Regions from separate parts of the Homo sapiens genome. Here all the other regions are linked to region 2. Evidence: promoter capture Hi-C in 16 types of primary human blood cells and fetal thymus (Javierre and others, 2016). All regions are on one chromosome and are shown on one strand. Each heading gives the region's core, a stretch centred on a gene start or on the middle of the fragment in contact. The rest is flanking DNA. Distances are from core to core; before and after follow the strand shown. Region 1 has its middle 39 kb from the start of MDM2. Region 2 holds the start of IL26 (interleukin 26). Region 3 overlaps MDM2 (MDM2 proto-oncogene).

Region 1 (3,570 bases), core at 472-2,971, 620 kb before region 2:
TCCAACCTGGAGTGAGAGACTGTCTCAAAACAAACAAACGAACAAACAACAACAACAACAAAAAAAAAAACGGCCAGGCGCAGTGGCTCACACCTGTAATCCCAGCACTTTGGGAGGCCAAAGCAGGTGGGTCACCTGAGGTCAGGAGTTCGAGACCAGCCTGGCCAACATGGTGAAACCCCGTCTCTACTGAAAATACAAAAACTAGCCAGGTGTGGTGGTGGACCCCTGTAATCCTAGCTACTCTAGAGGCTGAGGCAGGAGAATCACTTGAACCTGGGGGGCAGAGGTTGCAGTGAGCCGAGATCGCGCCACTTCAGTCTAGTCTGGGCGACAGTGAAACTCCATCTCAAAAAAAAAAAAAAAAGGGTCTACCGTTAGTGGACACCTTTAGTCTTCCAACGAGATACTTCCACCTCCCACCTTGTGGTTAAAAAATGCTTAACTTTGGGCTGGGTGCGGTGGCTCATGCCTGTAATCCCAACACTTTGGGAGGCAGAGGCAGGCGGATCATGAGGTCAGGAGTTCGAGACCAGCCTGGCCAATATAGTGAAACCCTGCCTCTATTAAAAATACAAAAATTAGCTGGGCATGGTGGCAGGCGCCTGAATTTCCAGCTACTCGGGAGGCTGAGGCAGGAGAATTGCTTGAACCCAGGAGGCAGAGGTTGCAGTGAGCCGAGATCATGCCACTACACTCCAGCCTGGGTGACAGAACGAGACTTCGTCCCCCCCAAAAAAACAAAAAGCTTAACTTTGAAGAGATTTGGTCTTCTCAGATGCCTCCTATAAAAAGAAACAAATGTGAGAAAAGGTAGAAAAGGCCTTTTTTGTAGGGAGCAATTTTTTCTAAAAAGGCTTTTCAGCCAAGACCCTCTCTCTTACAATTCTGACACCATATCAACTTTTAAGACTACTTTTTTCTTAGAATGCTTCTTTTTTGCCATTTATTGCACAAACAATAATTTGGGGGGGGACTTTAAAAAATCATAATCAGGCCAGGCACAGTGGCTCAATGCCTGTAATCCCAGCACTTTGGGAGGCCGAGGCAGGTGGACCACATGAGGTCAGGAATTCGAGACCAGCCTGGCCAACATGGCAAAACCCCATCTCCACTAAAAATGAAAAAATTAGCTGAAATAACACAGCTACTTGGGAGGCTAAAGCAGGAGAATCACTTGAACCCAGGAGGTGGAGGCTGCAGTGAGCCAAGATCACGCCATTGCACTCCACCCTGGGCAACAGAGCAAGACGCCATCTCAAAAAAACAAACAAAAAATCACAATCAGTGAGATTAATGTTTAATGAACATACTGTTATTTTTTATTTTTTTAAGAGACAAGTCTCCATCTGTCTCCTAAGCAGAGTGTAGTGGCGCAATCATAGCTCATTGTAACATTGGACTCCTGGGCTCAAGTGATCCTCCCACCTCAGTCTCCCATGCATGCCACCACAATTTTTTGGATACAGGGTGTCATTATGTTGCCCAGGCTGATCTCAAACTCCTGGCCTCAAGTGATCCTCCTTCCTTGGCCTCCCAAAGTGTTGAGATTACAGGCGTGAGTCACAGAGCCTGGCCCAGGATGTTATTTTAAAATTGTCTTTTTGTCTTCTAAATCAACAAGAACTTGATAGTTGCTTTCAATGCCAATCAACATCCTTTACTACTGTATACACAATGTATTTATTTGACATTTGAAAGGAGATACGGCTGGGCGCGGTGGCTCACGCCTGTAATCCCAGCACTTTGGGAGGCCGAGGCGGGCGGATCACAAGGTCAGGAGATCGAGACCATCTTGGCTAACACGGTGAAACCCCGTCTCTACTAAAAATACAAAAAATTAGCCAGGCGCGGTGGCGGGCGCCTGTAGTCCCAGCTACTCGGGAGGCTGAGGCAGGAGAATGGCGTGAACCTGGGAGGCGGAGCTTGCAGTGAGCCGAGATTGCGCCACTGCAATCCGGCCTGGGCTAAACAGCGGGACTCCGTCTCAAAAAAAAAAAAAAAAAAAGAAAGGAGATACAAAAGGATGTTACAACCTGCTATGGCAAGAAGATACAAAGGAACATATTGGTATGAACAGAATACCTCAGAGTTGAGTGTATAAAAAAGGCTTAATTCACCAGATGCAGTGGCTCGCACCTGTAATCCCAGCATTTTGAGAGGTCAAGGTCAAGACACGAGGATTGCTTGAGCCCAGGAGTTCAAGGCCAGCCTGGGCAACATAGCAGGACTCTGCCTCTAAAAAAAGTATATATATATATATAATGTACACACACATACATACATAAACACATATGTATTATATATATATATGTAATATATGTATATTATATATAATATATATATTAGCCAGGCATGGTGGCAACAGGCCTGTGTTCCCAGCTACTCAGGAGGCTGCAGTGAGTCATGTTTGCGCCACTATACTCCAGCCTGGGTGACAGAATGAGACCCTGTCTCAGCAAAAAACAAATAAAAAACTTCAAGGTGGAGTAGGGGTTAATTCAAGGCTACCTAAGCTGGATTTGGGGTGATTATGGTCGAGTGGATGCAAACAGAATATTAAACTTCCATTCATTAAAAGTGCTTACTACCTGCCAGACCCCATACTAGGCTCTATAGATTTATTGTCTCTAAGGTCACTAGGCGAGTAAGTACCAGATCTGTGACTTTGAACTTCCCACTACAATAAGCTTATGAACTTTGTTTAAGCAAAAAAGGTTTGAAAAGTGAAAAGCAAGCACCCATTTCATAGTGTTCTAAAAGTCTAAAATAATCCAGTAGAACATCAGAGATAAAATCCAAAAAGCAAGTTTTTCCCCCAATATTTAAATCAGGGAAGCAACATGATGGTATCTGTAAACTATAACTGAACCAAAAATAGGACCAAACGTAGTGAAATCCATTTAGGGAGATATTACTGTGATCTTGAAGGAAGGCCTACTTAATACAGGACAGTGGGCTGGGGAGGTGTGAACCAAAAATAGACACAGGCAAAAGCGCTAAAATTTAACCCTGAGAAATAAATGAAATTCACCTACAAAATAAATGGAATAAATTTAAAAGGTGAAATTTTGGGCTTGGCGTGGTGGCTTACACCTGTAATCTCAGCACTTTGGGAAGCCAAGACGGGCAGATCACTTGACCCCAGGAGTTTGAGACCAGCCTGGGCAACATGGTGAAACTGTCTCTACAAAAAATACAAAAATTAGGCCGGGCACGGTGGCTCACGCCTGTAATCCCAGTACTTTGGGAGGCCGAGGTGGGCGGATCATGAGGTCAGGAGTTCGAGACCAGCCTGGACAACATGCTGAAACCCCATCTCTACTAAAAATACAAAAAAAATTAGCCAGGTGTGGTTGGCGAGCACCTATAATTCCAGCTACTCAGGAGGCTGAGGCAGAATTGCTTGAACCTGGGAGGTGGAGGTTGCAATGAGCCGAGATTGCACCACTGCACTCCAGTCTGGGTGAAAGAGCAAGACTCTGTCTCAGGGCGGGTGGCAGCGGGGTCGGGGGAGGTGGGGGGAAGGTTAGCTGGACCTGGTGGCTTGCACCTGTGGTCCCCAGCTAC
Region 2 (3,595 bases), core at 683-3,182:
ACCAGAAGTTAAAAAATAGCCAGAACCCACATCAACTTAATTTATCAATATTAGCCACTTGAGTTATCAATATTAGCCACAAGTTTTGTTGGTACACACCAGGGATCTGAAATTGGCTGCTCACGGCAGTATATGGCTCTGGGAGGTGTTTTGTGTCATCCTTTTATTGCACTCTGTGTTTATAGCACAGTGTGTTAACAGGCTATGTGATTAGACAGACTTTAAGACTGGTGACCATATAAGCATATTAGCCGCAATTATCTGGTATCTACCCACCCAGTGTGTTTGTATTAATCCTCGCCCTCTAAGGGCATTTGAGCTTTTGATCCCTCCAAGTTCACACTGTTTCTTTCCAAAGGAACTTATAATACTAGGCATTCCTCTGCTCAAATAAATAAATAAATAAATAAATAAATCCCTTTGTGTATTTCATGTCCTAGTTCAAACATCCTTTCAGCCACTCCCAACTGAAACGACTTCTTTCTTTTTCTGAATTTCATAAAATTTCAGTGAACTTCACTCAGCACTCCCAGTCAGCTGACTTCTGCTATAGTTTTTTTGTGAATAGTTCTCATCTCAATTGATAGGGTGTGTCGTTACCAGTGATCTTGCTCCTGGGGAAATAAGGCTTGGATTCTTCCAAGAGATCCACTCATGTTTTGAAACAGCAGACATCAGTCCAAGCATTTTTCTTATTTTCCCTTTTTCTTCTTGGTTGTTTTTTTTTTGTTTTTTTTTTGTTTTTTTTTTGTTTTTTTGACAGCCCTGCTTGCTTTCATTTGGAATTTAGTCTTGGGTTCTGATGCTTGTTATTGACTGACTAGTTTTGATGACTCTCTTAACTCACAACCAGATTTCTAGTGTTGACTTATCCCTGATACACATTAACTCTATTCATTCTAGGCTTTAGTGACCTATCTCTGCTTCTCAGAATATGACTCTGGGCTGCCCTCTTCTTATATTGGGGCTGCTACCCAGAATGAGCCATATTTACTGTCTAGGAAGAACTGGGACAGAAATGAGGATGGGAGTTTATGGAGAATCCTCCTTGGTGGCTCCCTCATACCTAGCACTGGTTTTTGTGTAGGCAAGTCTTTAATAAAAATGTGTGAATGGAAGAAATTTAAAAAATAAAGCAGTTATGGTAGCACGTCATGATGTGACAAAAGTATTTACTCAATTAATAATGGATGCACTTCTTTAGATGAGGTGCCATGGTAGATGCTGTATTCAAAGGTGAAAATATACGGTCTCTTTCTTCAAGGAATTTGCACTCTCCTGGAAGTTGGGAGTTATAAGGAAAGTCTGAGTGGTAAATTTGGACAGAGATGACAGAGAACTTATTACATTGTGGACCTTAGTCCCAGGTCCAGTTCCAAACATATCTTGAATATGTTAAGGGGAGTTACTGTTTCTGCACTGGAAATGTTCTCGCTGCTATCTGCAGAATAATGGCCTCTGGGGGAAGCTGGGTGAAGGATGTGGCAAGCAATAAACACAAGACCCATTTGAATCGTGAGCAGATTTCCTGGGGCTGCCCATTTCTACCCCCTTGTTAAATTTTTTCTGGGATTCTGGTTAGAAAAGGAGATTTTTCACATGGGGTTTAAAAAATTATGACACAGCCCCCTGGAAATCATCCTGTTTTTATTGGCATGCCTTTTAAAATAATGCAAGCTGCTGTGATAGGCAACTGAAATTCTGAATTCTTTTGGAAATGAGAACGCAATCTTACCAGTAAGGCTGAGCTTTTAAATAATGTCAGTTGATGGTGTGATCAGCGTTTTTTGACTATGAAGCAAGCTCTTAAAAAAATAGAACAACCAAAGTGATCTTCCTCTATATAAACTGTAAATTATCTTTCACAGCACCTCATTGGACTGGTGGCTTTGAGGGCTACATTAAGTAGGTTATCCTCTCATCTAACCGGCATTAGTATCTCTTGGGCTGCTGTGAGTGACACACGCTGAGTGGGGTGAAGGGAAATGCTGGTGAATTTCATTTTGAGGTGTGGGTTGCTGTTAGTCACTCTGTCTCTTGCCATTGCCAAGCACAAGCAATCTTCCTTCACCAAAAGTTGTTACCCAAGGGGAACATTGTCCCAAGCTGTTGACGCTCTCTATATCAAAGCAGCATGGCTCAAAGCAACGATTCCAGTAAGTATTAGGCTCTGCTTAAAATCATGACCTCAAGGACATTTACAATCTTGGATACAACTTATTTCTCTTTGTATTATTGTAGGAAGACCGCATAAAAAATATACGATTATTAAAAAAGAAAACAAAAAAGCAGTTTATGGTAAGTCAGAAAGTCTTCTTCTTTTTTACATTTCCACTTATTTGATGTTTATTTCCCCCTGCATTTAAATTTTTTTCAGAGAGTAATTAAGTAATGATCGGGGGACATTAAAAAACGATTCATAATTTACCATATGCAATTTCTTGTATCTTATTTTTAGAAAAACTGTCAATTTCAAGAACAGCTTCTGTCCTTCTTCATGGAAGACGTTTTTGGTCAACTGCAATTGCAAGGCTGCAAGAAAATACGCTTTGTGGAGGACTTTCATAGCCTTAGGCAGAAATTGAGCCACTGTGTAAGTATACACAACAAATACTGTGCATTTGATCCTAGAAACCTGTTTAGAAGTCAGCATGTAAGAATCTGTCTCACACCAAAGGGTGAGTAAAACGAGCTTTGTAATTGTTGGCTTGTAGTCCAAATGGAGAGGTCATCACCAGGGAAATAGCATTAAATAACTGTACATTACTCAGAATGCTGCTATTTATTATTTCTTAAAGAATGGCTCATAAAACACACTGAAGAGAGCTAAAGTAACATGACATGGTTTTCAAATAAATACTTTAAAATCATTCTCTCATTATGTGATTCCCAAGTAATCCATTCATCCATTTAATATTTCTTGAGTACCAACTTTGTGCCAAACACTATTCTAAGTCTCTCTTTCTCTCCCTTCCTCCCTCTCTCCCTCTCTCCCTTCTTCCCTCCCTCCCTCCCTTCCTTCCCTCTCCCTCCCTCCCTCTCCCCTTTCTCTTCCTCCACCCTCCTTCCCTCCCTCTCTCTTTCTTTCTTTTCCTTCCTTCCTTCTTTCTTTACTTCCTTTTCTTTCTTTCTCTCTCTCTTTCCTTCCTTCCTTCTTTCCCATAACAATAATAACTAACTGATGCCCTTTTTCTTATTTACTTATGTTTTTAAAAAAATATTTGTGCCCCTTTTAAGGCATAATCTCAGTAAAAAACTTAAAAAGGGATAGACATGCCTTCTTTGGTACCTAAATTATTTGATGCCTCAGTATGGTCACTGTCATAGCAAGCAGTGGAGAATTAATTAAGAAGGTAAAAGTGATCACATTTCTATGAAAAATTCCACAGCAATAAAGACCAGTGCAGAAAACAAAACAAAACAAAACAAAACAAAACAAAACAAAACAAAACAAAAACACTGAGCCAGAATCTGTGCAATGTTAGTCGAGTTGCCTCTGTGGGGAATATTGAAGCTTTTCTGTGCCCTTGGTTGGGGTCCAAGTATGCTTTCTCCAGCCTCCTGCAGTTGTAGCTTGCAGATGGTACAAAGGTTG
Region 3 (3,629 bases), core at 1,062-3,561, 600 kb before region 2:
GCCCCCAAGTAGCTGGGACTGCAAGCATGCGCCACCACGCCTGGCTAATTTTTGTATTTTCAGTAAAGACATGGTTTCATCTTGTTGGCCATGCTGGTCTTGAACTCCTGACCTCAGGTGATCCACCCGCCTCAGCCTCCGAAAGTACTGATTACAGGCATGAGCCACCGCACCCAGCCCAGTATAAACCTGTATTTTACAGCATAAGTAAATAGAACTTACCTGATGTCTAGACCTATTTGGCAAATGTTAAGTTCAGACTATGCTGACTTTTTTGCTGATGGCTGTAATAAAATATATTTTTACTCTAAATAGTCAAATTTGCCTTAAAATGCTAAAATATTTAACTGAACCAAATTTTTGGTTTTGTTCCTTTTTTAAAAAGTGTAACTCTCAAATTCTCAAACAACTCTATACTCCAATTTATTTGACTGTACTATTGGTGCAGTGGTCCACAAATATTCTCTAATACATACAGTGACATTGATAATTACTAATACTACTACTAATTTTACCAATACCGGTGTTACTCCACTATTTTCCACATTTCTCACAATACCTTGGGTTGAAGGTGGAGATCAATATAGTAGTTTTATTTTAAAGTAAAATTTAGCACTGTGTTTTCTATCAATCTCGTAAGACACATGTACATTCTATCCGTATCCTTATTAGGACTGCCAGGACTAGACTTTGAACAGTAAGAGTCTTGCCTTACTTAAAATGAGAACATTACCGGATTCGATGGCGTCCCTGTAGATTCACTGCTACTGCTTCTTTCACAACATATCTCCCTTATTACACACAGAGCCAGGCTTTCATCAAAGGAAAGGGAAATACTATCAGATTTGTGGCGTTTTCTTTGTCGTTCACCAGATAATTCATCTGAATTTTCTTCTGGATATGTAAGGAAAAAAAATAAATTGCTGTACTGTGATTTAGAAAATTGAGCTGTTTTGAGTACCTATTTGTACAGAAACTTAGTTTCAATAAAATTAGTTCAAAAGTTAACACTGTTTTATTGAATCTGTCCAACTGTTACAGCAGAACACTATCTGTGTGTATTTATTTATTTGTTTATTTATTTATTGTCTGAGAAAGGGTCTTGCTCTGTCACCCAGGCTGGAGTACAGAGGCACAATCTCGGCTCACTGCAACCTCTGCCTCATGGGCTCAAGTGATCCTCCCACCTCAACCTCAGCCTCCCGAGTAGCTGGTACCATAGGAACGGTACCATAGGAATGCACCATTTTGTATTTTTTGCATAGACAGGGTTTCACCATGTTGCCTAGGCTGAGAATACTATTTTTAAAAAGCTTTCTATTCTTCTTTCAGAACTTTATCTCCATACATCACAATTTAATCTATCTAATAAAGTTTTTATTAACCAAAAAATCTAGGAATTTTTTTCTGTCAAAACCAAACTTTAAAATATAAGAGCTCATCTGTTTTTTTCCGAAAAGAGCCAAAGTGTTTAATTTACTCATATGGTATTCTTAATGTTTCAATTTCTTCAGTACCCTACACTTTTTCTTTTGAGACAGAGTCACACTCGACCACCCAGGCTGGAGTGCAGTGGTACATTCTCAGCTCATTGCAACCTCTGCCTCCCAGGTTCAAGTGATTCTTGTGACTTCAGCTTCCAAGTAGCTGGGATTAAAGGTGCACACCACCATGCCTGGATAATTTTTGTATTTTTGGTAGAGACAGGGTTTCACCATGTTGGCCACACTGGTCTCAAACTCCTGGCCTTAAGTGATCCTCCTGCCTCAGCCTCCCAAAGTGCTGGGATTACAGGCCTAAGCCACTAAGCCCGGCTCTTCAGTACCCTATATTTTAAACAGAAATCAAAACCAGTAAAAAGTTTCCATTTCATTTTAAATAATAAATTATCTCTGAATGGGTCAGAATGTTAGACAAATCCGTTAGACATAAATGAGAATACTACCTTATACTAGACATAAAAATGAATTCCAGGTGGATTAAAGATCTAAATATAAAGAACAAAACCATTCAAGTACCTATAACAAAATATTCTTATAATGCTGGGGTGGAGAAGTATTTCATAATACTGCAAAGTCCTCAATAAAAAGACTATCAAGATTAGACCATGTCAAGGTTTACATGACAAAATAAAATACCAAACAAAAGTTAAAAGGCAAAGGTCAAATTCGAAGATAATATCTGCAACATATATAGTAAAAATTACCCATAGTATACATATTATACAAAGTCCTACCAAATCAAGATAGACTGTATTTTCTTTTAAGGAAACAGGAAAAAGCAAGTCACAGAAGAAATACAAATGACTAATAAACATATGAAAAATCTTGAGTCATGTACTTGAGTAATAGAAAAAAAAACTCTTACCTCCTAGGGATCAAAGAAATGCAAAGTGAAATGATATCATTTTTCACCCATGAGAATGACAAAAATTAAAATGAGATAGTATCACAGATTTCTGAAAGGACTTTTTTTATCATTTTCTTGAGACAAAGTCTCACTCTTGTCCCCCAGGCTGGAGTATAATGGCACAATCTCGGCACACTGCAACCTCCACCTCCTGGGTTCAAGCAATTCTCCTGCCTCAGCCTCCTGAATAGCTGGGACTACAGGTGCCCACCACTGTGCCCGGCTAATTTTTTTTGTATTTTTAGTAGAGACGGGGTTTCACCGTGTTAGCCAGGATGGTCTCAATCTCCTGACCTCGTGATCCTCCCTCCTCGGCCTCCCAAGGTGCTGGGATTACAGGCGTGAGCCACTGGACCTGGCCGGGATTTTTACGTTTTATCGAGATCACAAGTTCTGCACGTGAGTTCTTAATCATGTTTGTGTTCCCTATTTTTAAAAAGGTGATCTTGGCCGGGCTGCAATTATAAATAATGCTGTAATTAGTATCTCTACATATAAATCTTTGAATTTTTTATTACATCCTTAGGATAGATTACTAGAAATGGAGTTACTAGGATAATGTTAAGAACTCTAAGACTTTTTTTTCTTTTCTTTTTTTTTTTTTTTTAAGAGGGAGTCTCACTCTGTACCCCAGGCTGGAGTGCAGTGGTGCGACCTTGGTTCACTGCAACCTCCACATCCCAGGTTCAAGCGATTCTCCTGCCTCAGCCTCCCAAGTAGCTGGGATTACAGGCGCCTGCCACCACACCTGGCTAATTTTTGTATTTTTAATAGAGATGGGGTTTCACCATGTTGGCCAGGTTGGTCTCGAACTCTTAACCTCAAGAGATCCACCCGCTTCGGCCTTCCAAAGTGCTGGGATTACAGGTGTGAGCCACCGCACCAGGCCATCTAAGCTTTTTTATAATCCGAAAAATTTAATCAATTTTTACCCACTTTTACCAATTTACAGACCAACAGTTTATCAGTGCTAATACACAAGTTATTAGCACTGATGAGTAAGGATGAGTAAAAATTTTATTTTTACTAATTTGATAGATCAAAAGGACACCCTTTTGGCATTTTTTACTATCTGTAAAGCTAAAAATCACCAAAATTCACCCTCTCCCCATATTTATTAGTCATTCGTATTTACTGTGAGAAATTTTTGTGAACTGTCTGCCCTTTTTGCTATTTGAAGTTTTAATGTTTTCCTTATTGATTTGGGAAGACTTTTTATG

The links. Contacts are between HindIII fragments. The CHiCAGO score rates a contact against its expected background, and 5 or more counts as called.
Region 1: a fragment that was not itself captured here is called in contact with the fragment with the promoter of IL26 in region 2 in 1 of 17 cell types (megakaryocytes); the score reaches 7.6 in megakaryocytes.
Region 3: a contact is called between a fragment that was not itself captured here and the fragment with the promoter of IL26 in region 2, in 1 of 17 cell types (megakaryocytes). The highest score is 5.1, in megakaryocytes.

What each region holds. Positions count from the first base shown.
Region 1 is chr12:68,845,891-68,849,460 of GRCh38, reverse strand. It overlaps a transcript of MDM2 not described here and a transcript of CPM not described here. Among named protein-coding and RNA genes, the nearest start is that of MDM2, 39 kb to the right of the region's middle. The HindIII fragment of the contact is 1,942 bases long and covers 751-2,692 here.
Region 2 is chr12:68,224,147-68,227,741 of GRCh38, reverse strand. IL26 (interleukin 26) reads left to right here and starts at 1,932. Exons shown (of 5, transcript NM_018402.2): 1 at 1,932-2,156; 2 at 2,242-2,298; 3 at 2,459-2,593. The coding sequence starts at 1,986. The HindIII fragment of the contact is 7,284 bases long and covers 1-3,516 here.
Region 3 is chr12:68,826,036-68,829,664 of GRCh38, reverse strand. MDM2 (MDM2 proto-oncogene) reads right to left here. Exons shown (of 11, transcript NM_002392.6): 8 at 734-894. Among named protein-coding and RNA genes, the nearest start is that of MDM2, 20 kb to the right of the region's middle. The HindIII fragment of the contact is 1,992 bases long and covers 1,316-3,307 here.